Regions from separate parts of the Homo sapiens genome. Here all the other regions are linked to region 6. Evidence: promoter capture Hi-C in 16 types of primary human blood cells and fetal thymus (Javierre and others, 2016). All regions are on one chromosome and are shown on one strand. Each heading gives the region's core, a stretch centred on a gene start or on the middle of the fragment in contact. The rest is flanking DNA. Distances are from core to core; before and after follow the strand shown. Region 1 holds the start of MMP3 (matrix metallopeptidase 3). Region 2 holds the start of MMP8 (matrix metallopeptidase 8). Region 3 holds the start of MMP27 (matrix metallopeptidase 27). Region 4 holds the start of MMP20 (matrix metallopeptidase 20). Region 5 holds the start of MMP1 (matrix metallopeptidase 1). Region 6 holds the start of CFAP300 (cilia and flagella associated protein 300). Region 7 holds the start of MMP13 (matrix metallopeptidase 13).

Region 1 (3,201 bases), core at 414-2,913, 800 kb before region 6:
ATCAATGTGGCCAAATATTTTCCCTGTATTTCAATCAGGACAAGACATGGTTTTTCCCCCCATCAAAGGAATGGAGAACCATAGAATACTAGTTTTAAAATGTCTTTAGGCCAGGTGCCGTGACCCATGTCTGTAATCCTAGCACTTTGAGAGGTTGAGGCAGGAGAATCACTTGAGCCCAGAGCTCGAAACCAGCCTGGGCAACATAGTGAAACCTCTGTCTCTATTTTTTAAATAAAATTTGAAAAAGTCTTTAGACATAATCTAGTCTAAAAATGAAGGCTTAAATGTGATGTATAGCCCCCTGCCAAGTGGCTATCAACTGTGTGGGCATCTTCAGTCATAGGGATCTTATTGCCACAGAGAAATCCCTTTAAACTTATTGGGTAAAATCTCTCCAATGTTTATTAAGAAACACACAAAAAATAAAGCAAAGAAGAAAATGCAAAAGAGTTATAAATGAGAGGAAGCAAAATGGGCACTTATTAAAGGTCTAATAAATGCACATTTGTATCCATCATTCTACTGAGTTCTTACTCCCAAGATGTTCTTCCCTTTAGCAAACAAATAAGCAAGTCAGCAAAGAAAGAAAGAACAAACAAAATGTGGTGATCAGGGAAGCATTGAGGAGATGGATGGTGGCAGGTGGCAAGAGGACTATAAAAGTTTTACAAAATGTCTTCCTCTGAATATGTTTAGAGTCTTGCATTCAAGCATTTATTATACACCAATAATGTGAGCAACACTTTACTTGACAAAGAAACAGAAAAGAAAGGAAAGGAAGAAAACAGAAGAGCATGAAGAGAAAATTTAGGATGGATTCTGTTCTTCAACTTCAAAGCATCTGCTAATTTGAATTTAGGGAGGAGGGGAAAAGGTTGAAAGAGAATAAGACATGTGTAGAAGACAAGGACAGAGAGAATTTCAGTCCGGTAAGCAATGTAATTCATTTCAATTCTACAACTATTTATGGAGCAGCTACGTGGGCCCATCACCCATTAATAAATTGGTTACAGAATTAAAACCAACCCAAAGGGAATATACTTCCTTCTTTTTCACAGACCCTCTTTGTTCTATTCTGCCCATGAGGTTTTCCTCCTCAAGAACCAGCAAATCCAACGACAGTCAATAGCAGGCATTACAAATCAGATTCAGAAAAATAAATCACCCCTTCTAAATTTCTTCTAGATATTATCTTTTATGTTTTGAGTATAATTGTATATAGTATAGACTATAGCTATGTATGTACACTTTCCACTTACATCTTTTATTTGCTTTTATAATGTGTTTCTTAAAATAAAACTGCTTTTAGAAGTTCTGCACAATTCTGATTTTTACCAAGTCAACCTACTTCTTCTCTCAAAAGGACAAACATAAATTGTCTAGTGAATTCCAGTCAATTTTTCCAGAAGAAAAAAAATGCTCCAGTTTTCTCCTCTACCAAGACAGGAAGCACTTCCTGGAGATTAATCACTGTGTTGCCTTGCAAAATTGGGAAGGTTGAGAGAAATTAGTAAAGTAGGTTGTATCATCCTACTTTGAATTTGGAATGTTTGGAAATGGTCCTGCTGCCATTTGGATGAAAGCAAGGATGAGTCAAGCTGCGGGTGATCCAAACAAACACTGTCACTCTTTAAAAGCTGCGCTCCCGAGGTTGGACCTACAAGGAGGCAGGCAAGACAGCAAGGCATAGAGACAACATAGAGCTAAGTAAAGCCAGTGGAAATGAAGAGTCTTCCAATCCTACTGTTGCTGTGCGTGGCAGTTTGCTCAGCCTATCCATTGGATGGAGCTGCAAGGGGTGAGGACACCAGCATGAACCTTGTTCAGGTAATTAACACTAACTGACCTGGCCAGGTGGGGAGCTTCCAGAGTAAGCTGAAACCATTCTGTGTGTCTTAAAACCCACATAGAATGCTTGAGCTTACTGTGTAGGAACAGTTCAAGAATAGAGAGTTATAGAGTGTTGGAAGTGGAAAAGGTCTCATTATCACACCATTTGGGCTTCTCCTCTTATGTAGGAAGAAACAAAGGCCAGAAATATTAGGTGTTTTCTTAAGATCACACAACACCATAGCAGTAGCAGCACTGGGGCTTAAGGCACATGAGTAACAAGTGGAGAGTGGATGAACCATATCTTGCTTTGGAACAGCTTCAGTTTTTTTTTTAATGCAACGTAATTTTAGCTAAATATTTGTGTTGCTAGTATCATATTATAAAATTTGCCATTATTTCAGCAAGCTAGAGAAATACTCCAAATAGATTAAGAAGTGAGCAACTGCAAAAACTTACTATAAATAGATAGCTATAGTAAAAATTGTAAGAGTGACCTAAAAACTATACTTATTCTGTTAGAAATATCTAGAAAACTACTACGACCTCAAAAAAGATGTGAAACAGTTTGTTAGGAGAAAGGACAGTGGTCCTGTTGTTAAAAAAATCCGAGAAATGCAGAAGTTCCTTGGATTGGAGGTGACGGGGAAGCTGGACTCCGACACTCTGGAGGTGATGCGCAAGCCCAGGTGTGGAGTTCCTGATGTTGGTCACTTCAGAACCTTTCCTGGCATCCCGAAGTGGAGGAAAACCCACCTTACATACAGGTAATGGTTCAGAGGGGTTTTCACATAAGATTGGAATTTTATAAACTATATCATAGGAGAAAATAGCATCTGCTTCAATTTTTCTCCTACAGGATTGTGAATTATACACCAGATTTGCCAAAAGATGCTGTTGATTCTGCTGTTGAGAAAGCTCTGAAAGTCTGGGAAGAGGTGACTCCACTCACATTCTCCAGGCTGTATGAAGGAGAGGCTGATATAATGATCTCTTTTGCAGTTAGAGGTAAAAAAAAAAAAAAAAAAAAAAAAGCAAAACAAAACAAAACAAAAAACACATGAAATGTATCCATTCATCTATCTGGTGTTGTTGTACTGGAAAAGGCTCAAAAGGGATCCTTGTTACATATCTTTCCAATAAATTTTTTTCCTACTAGAACATGGAGACTTTTACCCTTTTGATGGACCTGGAAATGTTTTGGCCCATGCCTATGCCCCTGGGCCAGGGATTAATGGAGATGCCCACTTTGATGATGATGAACAATGGACAAAGGATACAACAGGTTAGTTACACATCTCTCAGAATGATTTTGGCATTAATTTTTTTATATGTAGAAATCTGTTAATAACCAAGAATGCTCAAGAA
Region 2 (2,812 bases), core at 199-2,698, 680 kb before region 6:
CCAAACACCCACAGCATTTTATCCAAACCTCTATTAATTTATCTCCAATACTCTAGCACCCATCACAGCATGTGGCATGTAGTAGATGACAGGAAATGTTTACTGAATGAATGTAGGAATATACATCATTAACATTAATCTGCTGTCCAGATATGTTCTAACCCAAGACACCTTTCTTTGGATCATTTTCAAAGTTCCTAAGTGACCTCAGGAAAGATCAGAACTCCTTATCATAGCATCTCAAATACACTCTTTACATATTAATACATGCTATGTATCATACATGTAGACACATGCATTTATACACAAGAATACCTGCCTTTACCAAATATGTATGCATATATGTAAATGAGTATTCACAAAGACTGTGTATGATAACAAACTACATGCATGTGGACTCAGAATAAGTGGGACCAGGTTACATGATTTGAAAAGCATGCCCAGGGGCCTCTGACAAACAGTCTCCTATGTAGCCATATTGTCTGGAAATCTCTCAGTGTCTTACTCCTTGAAGATGTACAACATCTCATTCTCCCTCTCCCTTGTCTTCTGCCTGTGAATATAAGCCAAAGTATCCAGCTGTTGAAGGCCTAGAGCTGCTGCTCCACTATGGCCCAGCCAGAGACTCAAGTGGGAGACTACCATGCAGAGCTTATAGTAGCTCCCAGCTCAGTCTCTCTAAACATACCCTCTGGGGTTGAATCCTGGCCCCTCCACAAATGAAACATGTGACTTAAACAGGTCATCTAAATGTCTCTGGATTTGATTTCATCTGTAAAATGGAGATAGTAATAGCATCTCCCTCCCAAGGCTATGTGAAGATGGATTGGGGTAATATGTGGAACACAGTACAAATGTCTGGGCAATCATAATTTTTTAGCAAATGTTCATTATTATCATCATCAGTATTGTTCTCTTTATCTTTTCCATGGAAAGTCTAACTTATAGACTAGGGATTTTCTAATATGTTGATACCAAACCACATCCTCCAGAAGCAGCTCTAGGCCCCATACAAAGCCTGCTTTGTAATAACACAGTCACTCATTCTCTCCACATACAATGAGGGAGGGTAAGTACAGAGATTCTCTAGTTGGGCTCCTTGGTCCCAAGATATCTACCACAAACCTCAAAATATTCCCCTGCATAAGTTAATTCAACCTCAACATCTTACATAGTCAAAAAATGTATCCACATAACTTCAGGATTAGTCCCTTGTTCCTTTTCCTCAACCAATTTTGTAAAAGGAAATAACTAAAACATCCAAAAGCAAAGAGTAGAAAGTTGGAGTTTTGAAAGACTGTTGAAAGACTCCCCCATTTGGGGGTACTAAATCACATTATAAAATTGCAAAACTGTCAGAGTGTAATTAACCTATGTTGCTTCATATTCCTGATGCAGCAATTGTTTAAGACATGGCTTTAAAGAGGACTGCAAGAGAGCTGTGAGTGACACATGATGCTGTGAACGTCAGGGTGCTCGCCAGGGAAGGGCCCTACCCAGAGGGACAGAAAGAAAGCCAGGAGGGGTAGAGTTTGAAGAGAAGATCATGTTCTCCCTGAAGACGCTTCCATTTCTGCTCTTACTCCATGTGCAGATTTCCAAGGCCTTTCCTGTATCTTCTAAAGAGAAAAATACAAAAACTGTTCAGGTAAATGAACTATCAGTTAGGTGATGTTTGATTTGCTGATTATTAGGAAATAGTGTGGGTTGTTTTCTCTTGTTAATTAAAACAGCCTGAAAGAAATTATTTGGGTGATTAGTTTGAGATTGAACATCTCCTTTTAGTGATTTGGAGGGTTCCAAGCTGGTAAGGACTAGGCCTTTTAAAAGCCGGACATGAAAACAAGCTGAATTCTTTAAAGGCTGGGAAAATACTGCTGTAGAGTTACCCCTAGTTGGGAAACTTTTGTAGAAGAAATGGTTTTATTTATAAAATGGTATCATTTTCTTTCTCATTTACCTAAGGTTTTTCCTTCCAGGATATCTGCAATCAAGTTACTATATGTCTGGTGCTTCCATACAGGCATTTTCTTTGCCGCCAAAAATTCCAGATATAGAAAATAATGTGAGGATGGTAGATTACAATGAACTAGAAATCAGTACACAGTAAAATCATATTTCCCAGCATCAGATTGTGGACTGTTTATAAACTCTTGGAAGCATTATAAAAGCAGAACCAATAGTTTTTTTCCATTGTTTCACAGTCTGAAAGTGAACCCAAATTTTTAAGAAACACAAGGGAATTCTGTCACAAATCTCTCATGCACAGTTTTCTTAGCATTATAGTTTGGAGAAAGCATTATTATTATTAAGAGGTTATCTCTTAATTGTAACCCCCGGGTTAATGTAAAGTCCATTGAGTGCTTATTCTATGCAAGGCAACTGCTACACATTTCACAAATATCTCATTTAATCCTCACAAGAACCTTATTGGAGCATTATTATTTTCATTTCAGAGACAAAAATATCTTAAATCAGATAAATAATGTGGCCAAGTGCTCACAGTTAATTCATGGCAGAGTTAAGATTTGAACCCAGGCCTGTCTGATTCCAAAGCGTGTGATCTGGTCAGTGTCACCTACTGCTGTGGTTAGAGTGTGTCCCTTGAATTTATGTGTTAAAGATTTAGTAGCCCATGTGACAGTGGGTCCTTTAAGAAGTACTTAGGTCATTAAGAAAGATTAATGACACTCTTGTGTGACTGGATTAATTTTTGCTGGAGTGGGTTCTGGCTCTTGCAGAACTGGATTAGTAATTAATAGAATGGGTATTATAAAGAGGGGCTGCCCTTTGTGTTTTGCCCCTTTTCACA
Region 3 (2,987 bases), core at 485-2,984, 660 kb before region 6:
AAAAAAAAAGGGAAAAAAAAGAAAAGGATATGTAATCATAGTATACTACGTGATTCTCTTGTGAATAATATTTTCATGGTCATAATTGTATGAACGCTGATTACGGGCTTAAACATTCCTATAACCAAATTAGGAAAGCAGAAGGAGTGTTAAGTCCTTCTTTTCCATAGGAAGATGTTAATAATAACATTTAACTTTGAAAACTCGAGAAATAGTAGCATAAGCACGTTATTTACAAATGTGGAGTTAAACATAAAGATAAAAAGCTATAAAAATAATTTAAAGAAGTTACCTTTGGGGAGCAGGACTTGAAGGAGCGAAAGGTTAGGGCAGAGAGATGCTTTTTCGTTACAACAAGATAGCACCATTTGACTTCCCTTTTTCTGGTAACTCTATTTTTTTTTAAATTTTGTTCTGAAATATTTTAGAGTTTAAAAAACACAAAAGAACAATACAATGAGCATACTTGTACTTAGCATACTTGTACTTAATACCATTATAACACAAATCCTGATCATGTCTGCCTTCTCCCCTTCATCCCATTGCTCCAGAGGCCAATTAAACAATTTAAACTATATACATATATTAAAACAGTAAATAATAATATTTCTGAAACAAGATTTATAACTGGGATGAGCTTTAAATGCAAAGGAAGTATGTATCTACTTAGATCCTATAAGTTCCTCAGCTATGCCATATAAATTTTGTTTAGGATATGGACAAGGAAGATTTAGAAAGGTGTATCGATTGAGGAGTTAACATTTGGGAAGAAAGGGAAGAAAATTTTAATAATTGGTAGAAGAAAAGGGGAGGACAAGTGAGGGAGGACATTGCTGTAACTAAGACTGTTCCTTCATCTAAAAGTAGCCCAAGTAAAGAAGAATATATTGAAATTAATCCAAAAGGCTCTCACTAACTATATTCTCACTTCTGATGTTAATTTTGGCCTTCATCATCCATGACCTCTATGACTCTTCATCTTCCCAGTCAGCTGTCTTGTCCATGAGACCCTCCATCCCATCTTCCATAGCTGTCTACATATGTATTTTGTTCCAGTCAGGCCAGATTTCCTGCAGCTTATTTCTGCTGTGTTACCTCCTTCCCATGGCCTCTTTGCACTCATACTTCTTCTTCCTTCCTCTGTAAATCCAAATTCTACACATTCTCCAAAACCCAGAGCAAGCCCTAGTGCAAGCCCCAGTGCAGGCTGTATTTAACTTGCATAAAACCTCAAGGCCACACTCATAAGCAATGATCTGCCTTTGGCCCTTCTTAGTCTTTACAATCTGCACTGTGTATTTGCCCACTTGCCTCCTTTTTGTCCTACATTAATTTCTGTATGTGTCTGAATTCTCCAACAAGATTGCATTCACAGGGGCAGGCAAACAGTAGGAATTCAATAAACATTTGAAGTTTATCTTAGTTAATAAGGGTAATCTGACTCCTGATTCATTTGTCTTTTTATGATAACATCCTACCAAGATATTCTGAGATTGCCTTCAAAAGAAAACTTTGCAAGGAAAAAAAAATAACTTGGAGGCTCACTTCCCAGTATATTCAATTCAGTAATAAGCACTAACTGTGTTTACTAAACAATTGCAGGCCAAGATTACAAAATCAGCTCAGTCAAAAAAAAAAAAAAAAAAAAGCAAATCATGACACACTTTATGGCAAGTGTCCCTTTCTGTTATTAATTAAATGATGATACAAGCCAATTCATGCCACGTCTCACTATTATTTTCTAAATTCTGTGCTAACAGAACCGGCTTCAGCTGAAGAAAGAGAGGAATGAAGCGCCTTCTGCTTCTGTTTTTGTTCTTTATAACATTTTCTTCTGCATTTCCCTTAGTCCGGATGACGGAAAATGAAGAAAATATGCAACTGGCTCAGGTACTGTCTTAATAAATGATATCGATGACTATTGATAAAAAGCTTATTTTATTGATTCTCTTGGGACCTAAAAAGAAAACACATTCCTGCAAAAGAGTCCTGAACTTTTTTGTGAGAAGGAACTGCTTTTCATTTGTCTATCTCTGACGATATCAGGAAATTGTGTTGGGGAGGAGGGCTGGCACAGGGAGGGGGAAAGGATCTGCTATAACTTTTAGCAATGGTCACAAATGAAGGGATGTTTAGTGCGAGGAGAAAGGAGAGAGCCCTGCAAGGTATGGAGATCACTATAAAAGCATTTCAAGACAACCAGGAGGACCCAATCTACAATTTGGAGCCCTAATCCCTATATGTATGAAAAAAAATACATTGCTTTACAGATTCCCTCTAAAAATCAGTTCAGTTAACTTTTTATTTTTGGTTAAAGCAAATACATGTGCAAAATGGATAATCACTTATTTATCCTAGAACTTGTTTCAAAGAAACACCAAAATGAAAGTAACAGCAAAAATATGTAAGATAGGTCATCATTCAACAGACAGACGAAGCTTCATTCTCTTCTGTGGAGGTTTAAGAGCTGCGTGCTTTGGCTAATTCTGGTCACTCATAAGTCAACCAAGTCTTGGAAATTGAAAGAGCAGGGTGACTCGTTATTTTCCTCTTTGTGTCCTTCCTTTCTTCTTTCCTCCTTCACTCCTCACTTTCTCTCATTACTTCTTTTTTTTCCCCTTTCCTATTGCCAGAAGGAATTTTAGGCAATTTTGCTTTATCCTGAGATGGAGATTTGCTCTCCTGTAGTCTGTGCCTCTTTTTTTTTTTTCTTATCTTTTTGGTCAGGCATATCTCAACCAGTTCTACTCTCTTGAAATAGAAGGGAATCATCTTGTTCAAAGCAAGAATAGGAGTCTCATAGATGACAAAATTCGGGAAATGCAAGCATTTTTTGGATTGACAGTGACTGGAAAACTGGACTCAAACACCCTTGAGATCATGAAGACACCCAGGTGTGGGGTGCCTGATGTGGGCCAGTATGGCTACACCCTCCCTGGGTGGAGAAAATACAACCTCACCTACAGGTAATGCTTCTGCCAGCTTAT
Region 4 (2,934 bases), core at 54-2,553, 580 kb before region 6:
GAACTCACTCATTGTCATGAGAACAGCATGACGGAACCACCCCCATGATCCAATCCCCTCCCTCCCTCAACACATGGGGATTACAATTCGAGATGAGATTTGGTTAGGGACACAGAGCCAAACCATATTAATGTGTGACAAACTCTTGTTCAGTGCCTGGGGTTGTACACTAGATACCAAACATTGGCTGTAACTCCACCATCTTCTCTTCCATGCAAAGAAAGCATATCAAAATGCAACAGAGTGAGAAAGACTATAGGAATTCACTGTATTCACTATAGGAATAACCTTGAATTTAGTCTAAAATCAAAATTAGGATTTGAATCCACATCTAGTGGATGCCAAGTGGTGCTTGCAGATGTCATGCTATATGTGTTACTCCATAACACTGAAAAGTTTATACATAGTAGTAGTATTGTCAGTCTTTTGTAGATTAAAAAAAACTTGATATTCAGAGATTAAATGACATACCCAACATCACACAGCTAGGAAATATCTTTTTAAATATTTAGTCTTGCTTTGTCTGACTCTAAGTGCTTTTCCCACCATATGACACCATTTCACCGTATCATCTCTGGATCCAAATCCATCTTAATCAGACCCAGGAAAAACAATATGACTCCAATTAACCAGAGTACACAGAGATTGGGGAGTTCTGGCTATTGTTTTGGTTAACGAAGACGTAACTCTTGCCTTAATTCATCCAAAAGCTTTCTAACAGTTACCAGTTCACTTTCCACCCTAAGTCAGCACAGTATAATGTAATCTTGCCTTGATGATTCAGGATCTTATGTGTCTCAGAGCCATCATTATGAACAGCAGTTGCTACTAAGAAATTTTGAAGTGAATGCAGGAGATACAGGCGATTGGGTTGAATGCATGGGGAGTTTGGGATTACTTGGAGGACAAATTCAATTATACTGTAATCATCTAACTTTTCTGTAATCAGAATGGAAAAAGGCCCCCAAATGAAGACTAATCAAATGTTTCAGTTGAGTTGGGTTCAAATCAATCAAGTTTACTTCAATTTTTGTAACTAGCTGACCAACTTCATTAAAAGTGACTGTTTTTCTCCTTTTGCCACTTGGTAAATAACAAAAAAAATATGAAGCTTTCCCTGATTCCTGTGTACAGTTGTGTTACCCCATCATCAGGGAGAGAAATGAGCTGTATAATTACTGTTTGAGACATGAATCATCCTTGCTCGGAGGGTCCAGACCTGTTTGACTCTATAAAAGGAGCTCAAGGTCGAAGTGCAAACGTGCACTGTCTGCCATCCCCCAGGCTGATATAATTACCAAGCTACTGTGAGGGGATGAAGGTGCTCCCTGCATCTGGCCTTGCTGTCTTCCTCATCATGGCTTTGAAGTTTTCCACTGCAGCCCCCTCCCTAGTTGCAGCCTCCCCCAGGACCTGGAGGAACAACTACCGCCTCGCACAGGTTTGTGAATTTTTGCCCAATTCCTTCTTGCTCCTCTGCCCTAGAAAACCTAAAAGGGCATAGTGAGAAAATAAGAAAAAAATTCTATTGTTCTTTTAAAATCATTTTATATAAGTCCATTGAAGTCTAACTGATGCTATCTTCTGTCCACCTAGATTGGTGTCTGGTGCATATTAGGTGTACCATGTTACATGACTGAATAAATACATGAGGATATATCTACCTAGCTATCTTGCTTCATAAAGAATTCCAGGTGGCTTGTGAAAACCATGCAATATAAAAGGAGCAAACAAGTACTTCCCGGGAATGATGTAGGAGGAAAAATAGAAGCAGAAAAATAAAAACCGAGGCATAATCCACACGCTAGAGGCAGGTTGTGAATTTAGTGCTAAGCTTTAGCGGTCACAACAAGGAGATTTCCTGTGTTTCCACTTTTTAAATGGCTCTTATATTCAAGGTAACCCTGATCAAAATTTAAAGTGGACTAAGTTCTTCCTGGGTGCCAACCCACTTCTCATTTGAAGGCCTTTTCTCCCTAAAGCATATTCCCCAATGAAGTAAAAGTTTATGTACAAAGTACATAACAAAGTTTATGTAGTAAGTACAAAGTACAACGTTTATGTACTTAAACTTTGTGTATTTTCCTCTTTTGAGATCTCTCCTCTATGACTGCTGGAAAGGGTCTGATAGAAATGATCCATATTCAAATATTTCACAAAGACTGCTTGACTCAAAATGATTTCTACATATATATATATATATATATATATATATATATATATATATATATATGCTTCCAAGCGTGTTTTGTTTTTAAAAGAAGGGTGGCATCCTTAACCTAAAGAAATGGATGTCTACGGATGGAATTTCCAACATTAGTGAAAGATATATAGAGGAAATGCTTTTGCACACAGGCCTCCCTTTCAAGAGTCTGCCAACATTACAGCACATCTGTGATCACCAGCTCCGCCTCAGGGCTGCTTTCCTGACTGCCAGGCTGCACCTGTGTACCGCTTGGCTGTCTGCATCGTAGAGCTGATTTGCACCCATGTGCAATGGCATGTCCCTACCGATTGTTTCTGCCACTCATCCTTATTAACTGGTCAGTTCCCCGGCCATACCAGTCATTAAACACTTAAATATCAGCCCCGCAGATGAACAGCACAGCTGATGCCCAGCACAACCATGTTGAACTGAACTTCTTTTGACTTTAGCCCACTTTTAGATGAACTAAATTCAAAATAACTCAGGATACTGGGATCCTTATTCAATTGTATTTTGTCCATGCCACCTAGCTTTAGGTGCCTTCTTCCCAAATGTAATTTTCCCTACCCTGCCTCATGCCACTGTGATTCTGAAACTAAAGAGGTTTTGTGACCTCCAGAAGGAGAGCCATGCTGAGGCCAGAATGGATCTGAGGTGTTGGGAGACCCCCCTTCTAATCCACAGTTCAGGAAAACTACAGTTGGCCCTGCCCCTTAGTTTACAGATTG
Region 5 (3,085 bases), core at 523-3,022, 750 kb before region 6:
AGTCACTTCAGTGGCAAGTGTTCTTTGGTCTCTGCCGCACCCTCCCTCTGATGCCTCTGAGAAGAGGATTTCCTTTTCGTGAGAATGTCTTCCCATTCTTCTTACCCTCTTGAACTCACATGTTATGCCACTTAGATGAGGAAATTGTAGTTAAATAATTAGAAAGGATATGACTTATCTCAAATCAATCCAAGATATACTGAAGTATTGTTTATGAGTAAGATATCAGTCTTGACGCAGAAAGAAAACAGGAATCCATAAGGGGAGGAAAGTGTTGAAAAGCAAACCTGATACAGTGGGAAAGGTGGGAGACACCATAAGGTGCTGAAGTGATAAAACAGGCCAGTGTTTCTCCACTGTATGTTTTCAATAAATGCTTCCAAGGAAGGAGAGTGGGGCATGAGTAGGGGAGCTACAGAGATAAACCAACTTTTCTTACCAGGAATGCTACAGATAGCACTGGTGACACCGGTCACCAGTACCCAAGACAATTTAATGTGGAACATAAGTACAGGAATACACATCTTTCATTACAGAGCCATGTATTTATTTTAATGGGCAGGAGATGCTAAATAAGATCTTTTGAATGGAGGAATGCATAAATATATGAATGAATGCATACATGAAAGAATAAATAAATGCTGCCTAGCACCAAGGAGCGAAGATAGACTCATATCAAGGGAAACAAGTATGATTAAAAATAAGACCCCAGAGTCACGCTCAGTCTCTTTCCAGCCTTTTCATCATCCGGTACATTCAGACAAGTTTCAGGGAAGGATCCTATTTGTCCCATGATAATGATGGGCAAGGGGTGGGGAGTTATCTCATACTCCGCCTGTGGATGAGGGGTCTTCTCAGGTAAGGCTCTTAAATCCTAGGCCTGAGTAAATTTTTTCAAATTTTATTTTAGACAGGGTCCCTCTCTGTTGCCTAGGCTGGAGTGCAGCGGCACAATCACAGCTCAATGCAGCCTCAACCTCCCAGGCCCAAGTGATCCTCCCACCTCAGCCTCTTCAGTGACTAGGACTACAGGTGCATGACTCCATGCTTGGCTAACTTTAAAAAATGTTTGTTTGTTTGTTTGTTTTTTACAGAGATGGGGTCTCACCATGTTGCCCAGGCTGATCTTGAACTCCTGGGCTCAAGTGATTCCCCTGCCTCGGCCTCCTGAAATTCTGGGATTATAGGCTTGAGCCACCATGCCTGGCTCTGAGTAAAGATTAAGGGAAGCCATGGTGCTATCGCAATAGGGTACCAGGCAGCTTAACAAAGGCAGAAGGGAACCTCAGAGAACCCCGAAGAGCCACCGTAAAGTGAGTGCTGGGGGAGCTGAACTTCAGTCAGTACAGGTGCCGAACAGCCATCAGGTGCGCAGTGTTAGTAATTCCACCCTCTGCCCTGGGAGCAAGGTGTGTGGAGAAACCTGTAGCACTTTATGACCATCAGAACCAGTCTTTTTCAAAAAGACCATGGAGTACTCTTTGACCTGTGTATATAACAAGAACCTTTCTCAAATAGGAAAGAAATGAATTGGAGAAAACCACTGTTTACATGGCAGAGTGTGTCTCCTTCGCACACATCTTGTTTGAAGTTAATCATGACATTGCAACACCAAGTGATTCCAAATAATCTGCTAGGAGTCACCATTTCTAATGATTGCCTAGTCTATTCATAGCTAATCAAGAGGATGTTATAAAGCATGAGTCAGACAGCCTCTGGCTTTCTGGAAGGGCAAGGACTCTATATATACAGAGGGAGCTTCCTAGCTGGGATATTGGAGCAGCAAGAGGCTGGGAAGCCATCACTTACCTTGCACTGAGAAAGAAGACAAAGGCCAGTATGCACAGCTTTCCTCCACTGCTGCTGCTGCTGTTCTGGGGTGTGGTGTCTCACAGCTTCCCAGCGACTCTAGAAACACAAGAGCAAGATGTGGACTTAGTCCAGGTAAATGCTGCATTGCATGTGACAATAATGTAAATTTTTAGTTTGTATTTTTCTGCAGTAATGTAATAGAGTTTTTTAAGGATAGGTTTCTTATAAAGAGATTTTTTTTTTTTTTGCTAGAAACAGCACCCTCCACCCAAAATGTATCTAGCCATGCATACGCTCTCTTTTTCCAGTTGGAGGTGAGAGTGAACTAAAGGAACAACATCCAAACTTGTCTCCACAAATTGTAGACTTGTAACAGTATGCAAATCTTGCTCTACAAAAATTGCTCTACTATGAAGTTCTTACTTCACAATAACTAATAGTAGGGACATTTCTACTCTGAAATTTCATTTCTCACCAAAAATAAGGATAAAAGCAACTGCGAAATCTAAACACAAGGTTTAAAAGCAGTTCTCTGTTTTGGCTAAAACTTAATGCCATCAATTTTTAGAATAATGAGAAAGATTTCCCATGCAGTGTTTCGATAATTTTCTTTTGTCAGAAATACCTGGAAAAATACTACAACCTGAAGAATGATGGGAGGCAAGTTGAAAAGCGGAGAAATAGTGGCCCAGTGGTTGAAAAATTGAAGCAAATGCAGGAATTCTTTGGGCTGAAAGTGACTGGGAAACCAGATGCTGAAACCCTGAAGGTGATGAAGCAGCCCAGATGTGGAGTGCCTGATGTGGCTCAGTTTGTCCTCACTGAGGGGAACCCTCGCTGGGAGCAAACACATCTGACCTACAGGTAGGCAGACTGAGGGCCAGAGTGAGAGAGCTATTTCCCATGACAGTGGTAAGAAGTCATGTCCAATGTGTCTCTATTTTGTTTCATTCTAAGGATTGAAAATTACACGCCAGATTTGCCAAGAGCAGATGTGGACCATGCCATTGAGAAAGCCTTCCAACTCTGGAGTAATGTCACACCTCTGACATTCACCAAGGTCTCTGAGGGTCAAGCAGACATCATGATATCTTTTGTCAGGGGAGGTAAGTTCTTCTTATAGCACCTTAACCTCACCTTGCCCCTAGATCTCGTAGCTTTGCAACTGGAATTGATTGTTTAAGATGAATGTTGATTTTATGGGCTCGAAGAGGGAAACTGCATCACAGTTGATGGAAGTCTGTTGGCCTCTTAACAAAGCTAATGCTTGCCC
Region 6 (3,033 bases), core at 405-2,904:
TCTTTACTGCCCTTATCACTATATGAAATAATCAGATTGTTTTTTCATTTATTGTAGTCTTGCCAAGGCCCGTACAATCTTTGACAGCTGGGCTCTTGTCTTGTTCCTCCTCGTATCCCCAGCACTGGAAGGAATTCCTAGCACATGATAGGCCCTCAGGAAGTGTTTGTTATGCCAAACTATAAACTACAGTCAATGCATGAAGGACATGAATGGCAGAGAATGAAGATAACTTCATAAACTGTAACAGTATTTTCCATTTGATTGAGGAGAAAAAAAAAACAGGATTGAAAATAATGGACTAAATTTTAACAAACACACCAAAACTTAAACTTTCAAGTGAGTTTTACCTCTCTCAAAGTAGTCACCTCTAGTAGTCAAAAGACTTATTCAAATCACTGTGCTACGGCTTCATACTTTTTTGGGGGAATTCCTCATTTGGAACTGTTGGTAGAGCCTGAAGCCCAGTTCTCAGAGTGGGTGTGATGTTGAGAAAAAAATCGAAAGTAATTTGGAGCTAGTAAATAAAGCGGCGATAAAGCTGTGTGATAATATTTAAAATATTTTAAAATGAGATGTGCCTATTGAAAAAGAGAGGCTGGGGGTGGTGGCTCGCCTGTACTCCCCAGCACTTTGGGAGCCCGGGGATTCAAGACTAGCCTGGGTAACATAGTGAGACTCTGCCTCTAAAAAAATTTTTTTTAATTAGCTGGACGTGGTGGCCTGCACCTGTAGTCCCAGCTATTCAGGAAGCTTGAGCCCGGGAGGTCCAGGCTGCAGTGAGCTGAGATGGTGCTACTGCACTTTATTCAGCCTGGGTGACAGAGAAAGACCCTGTTTCAAAAAATAAGTAAATAAAATAAAATAAAACAAAATAAAATGAAACAAAAATAAACAAAGGGAGAAACTAATCTTCTAGAGAGCGCGCGATCTTCCAGAACTGCAAAGTTCCCCGAGGCAAGATACAAGATGCTGAAAGTAGAGAAAGAATGAACTAAATGGCAAACAAATTTATGATGACTGATTCGAAACGTAAAAGTTCCTTTAAAAAAATCATTTGCACCTTTTATTACTCCCAAACGCCAAGAAAACGACGTCAGTAAGGAATAGCGTGTTCACAAGAATCTATGCCAACTTGGGGGGAAGTTTAAAAATCCGCAGAGACCCAGGGAACTCTCCGACCCCCATACTAACCATAACGAAATCATCCTTCCGATAGGACTGAAAGGTCTGGTCAAAGCCGAACGCCTGCGCCTTGATTCTGCCCAGCATGGACCTGGGGCAGAGGAGGAAAAAGAAATCATCTGGGGGCTGGCACCCTCTCAGAGCGCACCGATAACCGATCCCACCCACAGCATCCGCCCTTCCCGGGTGGTTCGGGGTTCACTCAGGAAGCCTCAGGGTTCACTCAGAATGGCGCCGACCCGCGCGGGCCCCTCGACGCCCGGCCTGCGCCTCCACAGCCGCGAAGACCAAGGGCCTCTTCTCTCCCTGTGCCTCGGTTCCTCACCACTGGCGGAGCCGGCTGGTGATCTCCTTAGAGCTCAGAGACTGGAAGGTTTTCTGAGGCAAGAACCTGAAGTAGTAGCCACCCAAGTCCCCGAGCTCCCCAGTAGCCATCGTGCTCTCGGCTGGGTGGATGCCTGGGCCGTTTCCATGGAGACGCGGCGGCCGTCGTGTCGGAGCGACGCTGCGGGGGCGGGGCCACACGTCTCTAGGGACCCAGGAGTTCCGGCCTTGCCGCCGCGGGTGCAGGGAGGGAGGTTAGCCTGTCTTTCCCAGGAGCTTGTGCCACTCCACTCCCCAACCCCGGGCTTGGCGGTTAGGGAAACTAGGGGTCGGGGATGGAGACAAATTGCCAATCGATACTTGTTGACATTAACTTTTAATAATAATTACTCAGCATGGGTTAATATTCTAGTCTCAAGAGCTATAACCTCAGATTTACAGTTATCTACGTTTGATGACTCAAACGTTTCTGAAGAAAAGATTATTCTGAATTAATTAGGTTTATCTATTTTGGAAGACAAATGTCTATGTGACTACTTAGGAAACTATTCTGTTTTACCATCTGTTTTTTTTTTTTTTTCCTTAAAATGTACACTTGAAGGCCAAAAAAAAAAAAAAAATGTTTCCATACACAGTACATTACAACATGCTGTTTATTTATTTTTGTTTTTTAGACCACTTTTGTTCTGGTATGCGTGCTGTTTAATAGAAAACACACTTTTCTTATTTTCTATTGAAAATTATCTTCGTTTCTACTTTTTTTTTTTTTTGAGATGGAGTCTCGCTCTGTTGCTCAGGCTGGAGTGCAGTGGCGCGATCTCGGCTCACTGCAACCTCCGCCTCCCGGATTCAAGTGATTCTCCTGCTTCAGCATCCTGAGTACCTGGGATTACAGGCTAAGTTTTTGTATTTTTAGTAGAGACAGGGTTTCCCCATGTTGGCCAGGCTGGTCTCGAACTCCTGACCTCGAGTGATCCGCCCGCCTCGGCCTCCCAAGGTGTTGGGATTACAGGCTTGAGCCACCGCACCCGGCCTGTTTCTATGGTTTTTATTTTTGCCTTATAGCAGTGCATTTGGACTTCAGAATGGAGGGATAGTTCTTTTCCATCTCGTTGCTTTCTCTCCTTTTCCCCTAGCCCTTAAGAACTTGATTATTTTTTAACAGCATTAGCAGAAGAAGAGACAGGGAACAAAGACAAAAAAGAGAAACAGAGGGAGAGAGAGATAGATTATTCCTTTTCATTGATGTTTAGTATTCTGTTACTTGACTATACTACAGTTTATCCTTTTGGGCTGTTTCCTCTTTGAGGTTGTTATGAAAGCAGCTATGAACATTCCTGTGTATGCCTTTAGATGGACTTATGCACCATTTCTGTTGGAAATACATCCAGGATTGGAATTGCTCAGTTACATGGCATAAGTATGTCTAGCTTTACTACATACTGTCAAAAAGTTTTCTAAAGATCAGTTTACATCCCAACCAGCAATGAATGAGATTTCCCGTTGTTCAACATCCTTGCCAAC
Region 7 (3,111 bases), core at 612-3,111, 910 kb before region 6:
CTAGTTTGAAGTAGTAACATTTCTACAAATATGTGAAAATCTATAAGAACAGTTAGCCTATTTGATTCTTTTTCTCCACTTTCAAATGTTTAATAAAATGTTATTTGTTTTCCAGCTTCTTAAGCACTTCTTATCTAATGAGATTTTAATATATTATGAAAATTTATTTGTAAAAACAAATGCTTTCTAATAAACTAACTTTTATAAGCTTAGTCGATGAATCAAACTTTTTTGGATAATTTTTCACTTAATCTCAAAATTAAATATTATGATACATGGAAGCAACTTAAAATAAATTATTGCTTTGCATTCCTGATTGAGCACCAATCTAATCTTGAACTCACTGGAAACAATCTATTTGAAAGGGTATATTTGGCTGTATTTTGTTTGGATAAAGGCATATAGTAAATTTCCCTCAAATGATCACATACATGTTGTAGGCTTTTCTGATTTTTCTCTAAGGCACTGGCTACTCTAGATTATAGGATTTTACTCATATGTTAGGATACCCATTTCGTACTCACCCTAAAGCTGTATTCATGCTCCTTCTCTTTGTCTTACTATGTTCCTGACCTGAGCAGCATTTTCTTTCTGACTCTTAGTCACTCAAATTAACCTGCATTTCCAATCATTTATTTAAAGAAGTCCAATAAATCCAAAGATCATGGCCTATATTGCTCTACCCATTTACTTCTGCAGGGGACCAAAGATGGCACTTTGATTTCACGGTACTGAATGTGTGATGTTCTGAAAGGAATAATAGGGTAGAGGCCCCTAGGACTATTTTCCTGATGGTTGGACCAAGATTACTTCTATTATTCAAACTTAAAAATTGAGAAACTTGAAATTGGCCTACTGCAGCCCTAGTTTTCTTGGGCACTCCCTGAGGTGTAGGAACCAAACAGCTCAGCTTTTAAGAAAATATCTGAGAATGGAAAGGGTGGAGGTCATAATTAGACAGGGACGGTGGTCAAGAACATTGAGTTTTGAGTTATTGGCCTAGGTTCAAATCCTGGTATCATTTATAAACTATATGACCGTATACAAGTATTTAACTTCTCAGTGTATCAGATTATTCATATGTAAAATGGAAAACAAGCTTTCTGACAGCACCTATGTGGCTGTTGTAAGGATTAAATGAGATAATGCCTTTTAAACCTAGAATGCAGTAATCCCTGTTTGTGCTAGCCATTACAGTTGTTCCGTTCCAATGTAATTCTTCTACCTCTGTCTGAATCTGTAGGGAATTTATGCAGGACTCCATATTTGTCGAGAGGTCATGCCAGTGTGTTTAAATTCCAACCATGGGGCTCAATCCTGCGGTTGTGCCGTAGCACCTCCAAGTCATCAAGCTTGGTTTTGGTCCAATATCGTGAACTTCAGGTAGACACAAGACATCTCTCTGTAGTTATTCTAGAGAAAATGCAGTTTATAATTTACCAGGCAGTAGTAAACATTCTAGAATCAGTACTAAGTTTCTCTTTATGGAAGTAAACATGCCATCTTGATACACTTATTATTCGAAGAAGCAAAAGTAGATACGTTCTTACAGAAGGCAAAAAAAAAAAAATTTTGCTAAGTGAAGTAAAAAATGTACTACTCTCTGCTTCTTCCCACAGTATCCATAAATATGCTGAGGCCGTTTATTTTGCCAGATGGGTTTTGAGACCCTGCTGAAACAAGAGATGCTCTCATTTATATTTCCCTCAAATTCTACCACAAACCACACTCGGGAGGGAAAAGAAAAAGTCGCCACGTAAGCATGTTTACCTTCAAGTGACTGGGAAGTGGAAACCTATCCATAAGTGATGACTCACCATTGCAGGCCTATAAAAGTAAAGGTAATCTCTGCGGAAAGACAACAGTCCCCAGGCATCACCATTCAAGATGCATCCAGGGGTCCTGGCTGCCTTCCTCTTCTTGAGCTGGACTCATTGTCGGGCCCTGCCCCTTCCCAGTGGTGGTGATGAAGATGATTTGTCTGAGGAAGACCTCCAGTTTGCAGAGGTAGAGTATCTTGCCAATCCTGATGATGCGGTTGGTACATCTCAGAAATGTCCTTCTCTTTTAAACGCAGTTCATTTTGGTGTCTTTTCTAGCGCTACCTGAGATCATACTACCATCCTACAAATCTCGCGGGAATCCTGAAGGAGAATGCAGCAAGCTCCATGACTGAGAGGCTCCGAGAAATGCAGTCTTTCTTCGGCTTAGAGGTGACTGGCAAACTTGACGATAACACCTTAGATGTCATGAAAAAGCCAAGATGCGGGGTTCCTGATGTGGGTGAATACAATGTTTTCCCTCGAACTCTTAAATGGTCCAAAATGAATTTAACCTACAGGTAAATCATAGGCTATCTTTCTTTCATATTTGTTAGCCTTTTCTTGTAGTATTAAATGTCTAATATTAAGTAGGCCTTATTATTTAATTGGCAGTTAAATTCCAGAATAGCTTTAATATGGTTGCCGAGAATACCTCATAACATCTATTATTGTTACATTAACTCAGCATTATTTTTTAGTGGGCATCTCAAAGTATTTCTTTTAGAGATGAAATCAAAAGAGAAATAAAAGTAGGTTAAAGAAAATTTGCAAACATAGTACATTAGGTGTATTTATTACAACAGTGCTCAAGATGAAGAGTTCCACTCTTTCTAGAAACTTTACAGAGCTATTTCATTTATTTGAGCTTTATCAATGTAATCTAAACTTTTAGCATGCAAAATAAATTATATTAAACATTGGAATATTTTAAATTTAAGATGCCACATGGTCAGATATTTGGAGATACTCAAATGTGGCTGAATTTTTGACTTTTTATTCTTGTATGGCATCATAATTAATACATTATTTGAAACAATAAACCTCTAGTAGAACTTTCAAAGAAATTATTGCATTTTGAATTGAAAAGCAATATACCAAGAAAATGTATTCTAAAATAGCTGTCACTTTCCAAAAAGTTCATTGAAACTTTCTCTGTTAAATAGAATTGTGAATTACACCCCTGATATGACTCATTCTGAAGTCGAAAAGGCATTCAAAAAAGCCTTCAAAGTTTGGTCCGATGTAACTCCTCTGAATTTTACCAGACTTCACGATGGCATTGCTGACA

What was found. The method cuts DNA at HindIII sites, captures the fragments that hold promoters and counts their contacts. A CHiCAGO score of 5 or more calls a contact.
Region 1: a contact is called between the fragment with the promoter of MMP3 here and the fragment with the promoter of CFAP300 in region 6, in 6 of 17 cell types (M2 macrophages, total CD4 T cells, monocytes and 3 more). The highest score is 10.1, in M2 macrophages.
Region 2: a contact is called between the fragment with the promoter of MMP8 here and the fragment with the promoter of CFAP300 in region 6, in 9 of 17 cell types (total CD4 T cells, naive CD4 T cells, non-activated CD4 T cells and 6 more). The highest score is 18.3, in total CD4 T cells.
Region 3: a contact is called between the fragment with the promoter of MMP27 here and the fragment with the promoter of CFAP300 in region 6, in 11 of 17 cell types (total B cells, total CD4 T cells, megakaryocytes and 8 more). The highest score is 19.8, in total B cells.
Region 4: a contact is called between the fragment with the promoter of MMP20 here and the fragment with the promoter of CFAP300 in region 6, in 14 of 17 cell types (non-activated CD4 T cells, erythroblasts, activated CD4 T cells and 11 more). The highest score is 15.1, in non-activated CD4 T cells.
Region 5: a contact is called between the fragment with the promoter of MMP1 here and the fragment with the promoter of CFAP300 in region 6, in 9 of 17 cell types (neutrophils, fetal thymus, M2 macrophages and 6 more). The highest score is 12.9, in neutrophils.
Region 7: a contact is called between the fragment with the promoter of MMP13 here and the fragment with the promoter of CFAP300 in region 6, in 11 of 17 cell types (total CD4 T cells, M2 macrophages, monocytes and 8 more). The highest score is 13.2, in total CD4 T cells.

What each region holds. Positions count from the first base shown.
Region 1 is chr11:102,842,071-102,845,271 of GRCh38, reverse strand. It overlaps MMP3 (matrix metallopeptidase 3), which reads left to right and starts at 1,663. Exons shown (of 10, transcript NM_002422.5): 1 at 1,663-1,830; 2 at 2,356-2,600; 3 at 2,693-2,841; 4 at 2,993-3,118. The coding sequence starts at 1,726. The HindIII fragment of the contact is 9,261 bases long and covers 1-3,201 here.
Region 2 is chr11:102,723,590-102,726,401 of GRCh38, reverse strand. MMP8 (matrix metallopeptidase 8) reads left to right here and starts at 1,448. Exons shown (of 10, transcript NM_002424.3): 1 at 1,448-1,648. The coding sequence starts at 1,547. RefSeq lists an enhancer at 1,042-2,241. The HindIII fragment of the contact is 5,644 bases long and covers 1-2,812 here.
Region 3 is chr11:102,704,516-102,707,502 of GRCh38, reverse strand. It overlaps MMP27 (matrix metallopeptidase 27), which reads left to right and starts at 1,734. Exons shown (of 10, transcript NM_022122.3): 1 at 1,734-1,890; 2 at 2,728-2,966. The coding sequence starts at 1,789. The HindIII fragment of the contact is 3,149 bases long and covers 1-1,934 here.
Region 4 is chr11:102,623,701-102,626,634 of GRCh38, reverse strand. It overlaps MMP20 (matrix metallopeptidase 20), which reads left to right and starts at 1,303. Exons shown (of 10, transcript NM_004771.4): 1 at 1,303-1,441. The coding sequence starts at 1,316. The HindIII fragment of the contact is 723 bases long and covers 1,114-1,836 here.
Region 5 is chr11:102,796,847-102,799,931 of GRCh38, reverse strand. MMP1 (matrix metallopeptidase 1) reads left to right here and starts at 1,772. Exons shown (of 10, transcript NM_002421.4): 1 at 1,772-1,944; 2 at 2,432-2,676; 3 at 2,770-2,918. The coding sequence starts at 1,840. It also overlaps the pseudogene WTAPP1. The HindIII fragment of the contact is 10,818 bases long and covers 1-3,085 here.
Region 6 is chr11:102,046,058-102,049,090 of GRCh38, reverse strand. CFAP300 (cilia and flagella associated protein 300) reads right to left here and starts at 1,654. Exons shown (of 7, transcript NM_032930.3): 1 at 1,511-1,654; 2 at 1,195-1,276. The coding sequence starts at 1,620. The HindIII fragment of the contact is 7,683 bases long and covers 756-3,033 here.
Region 7 is chr11:102,954,482-102,957,592 of GRCh38, reverse strand. It overlaps MMP13 (matrix metallopeptidase 13), which reads left to right and starts at 1,861. Exons shown (of 10, transcript NM_002427.4): 1 at 1,861-2,007; 2 at 2,100-2,341; 3 at 2,987-3,111. The coding sequence starts at 1,888. RefSeq lists an enhancer at 1,229-2,428. The HindIII fragment of the contact is 7,221 bases long and covers 1,355-3,111 here.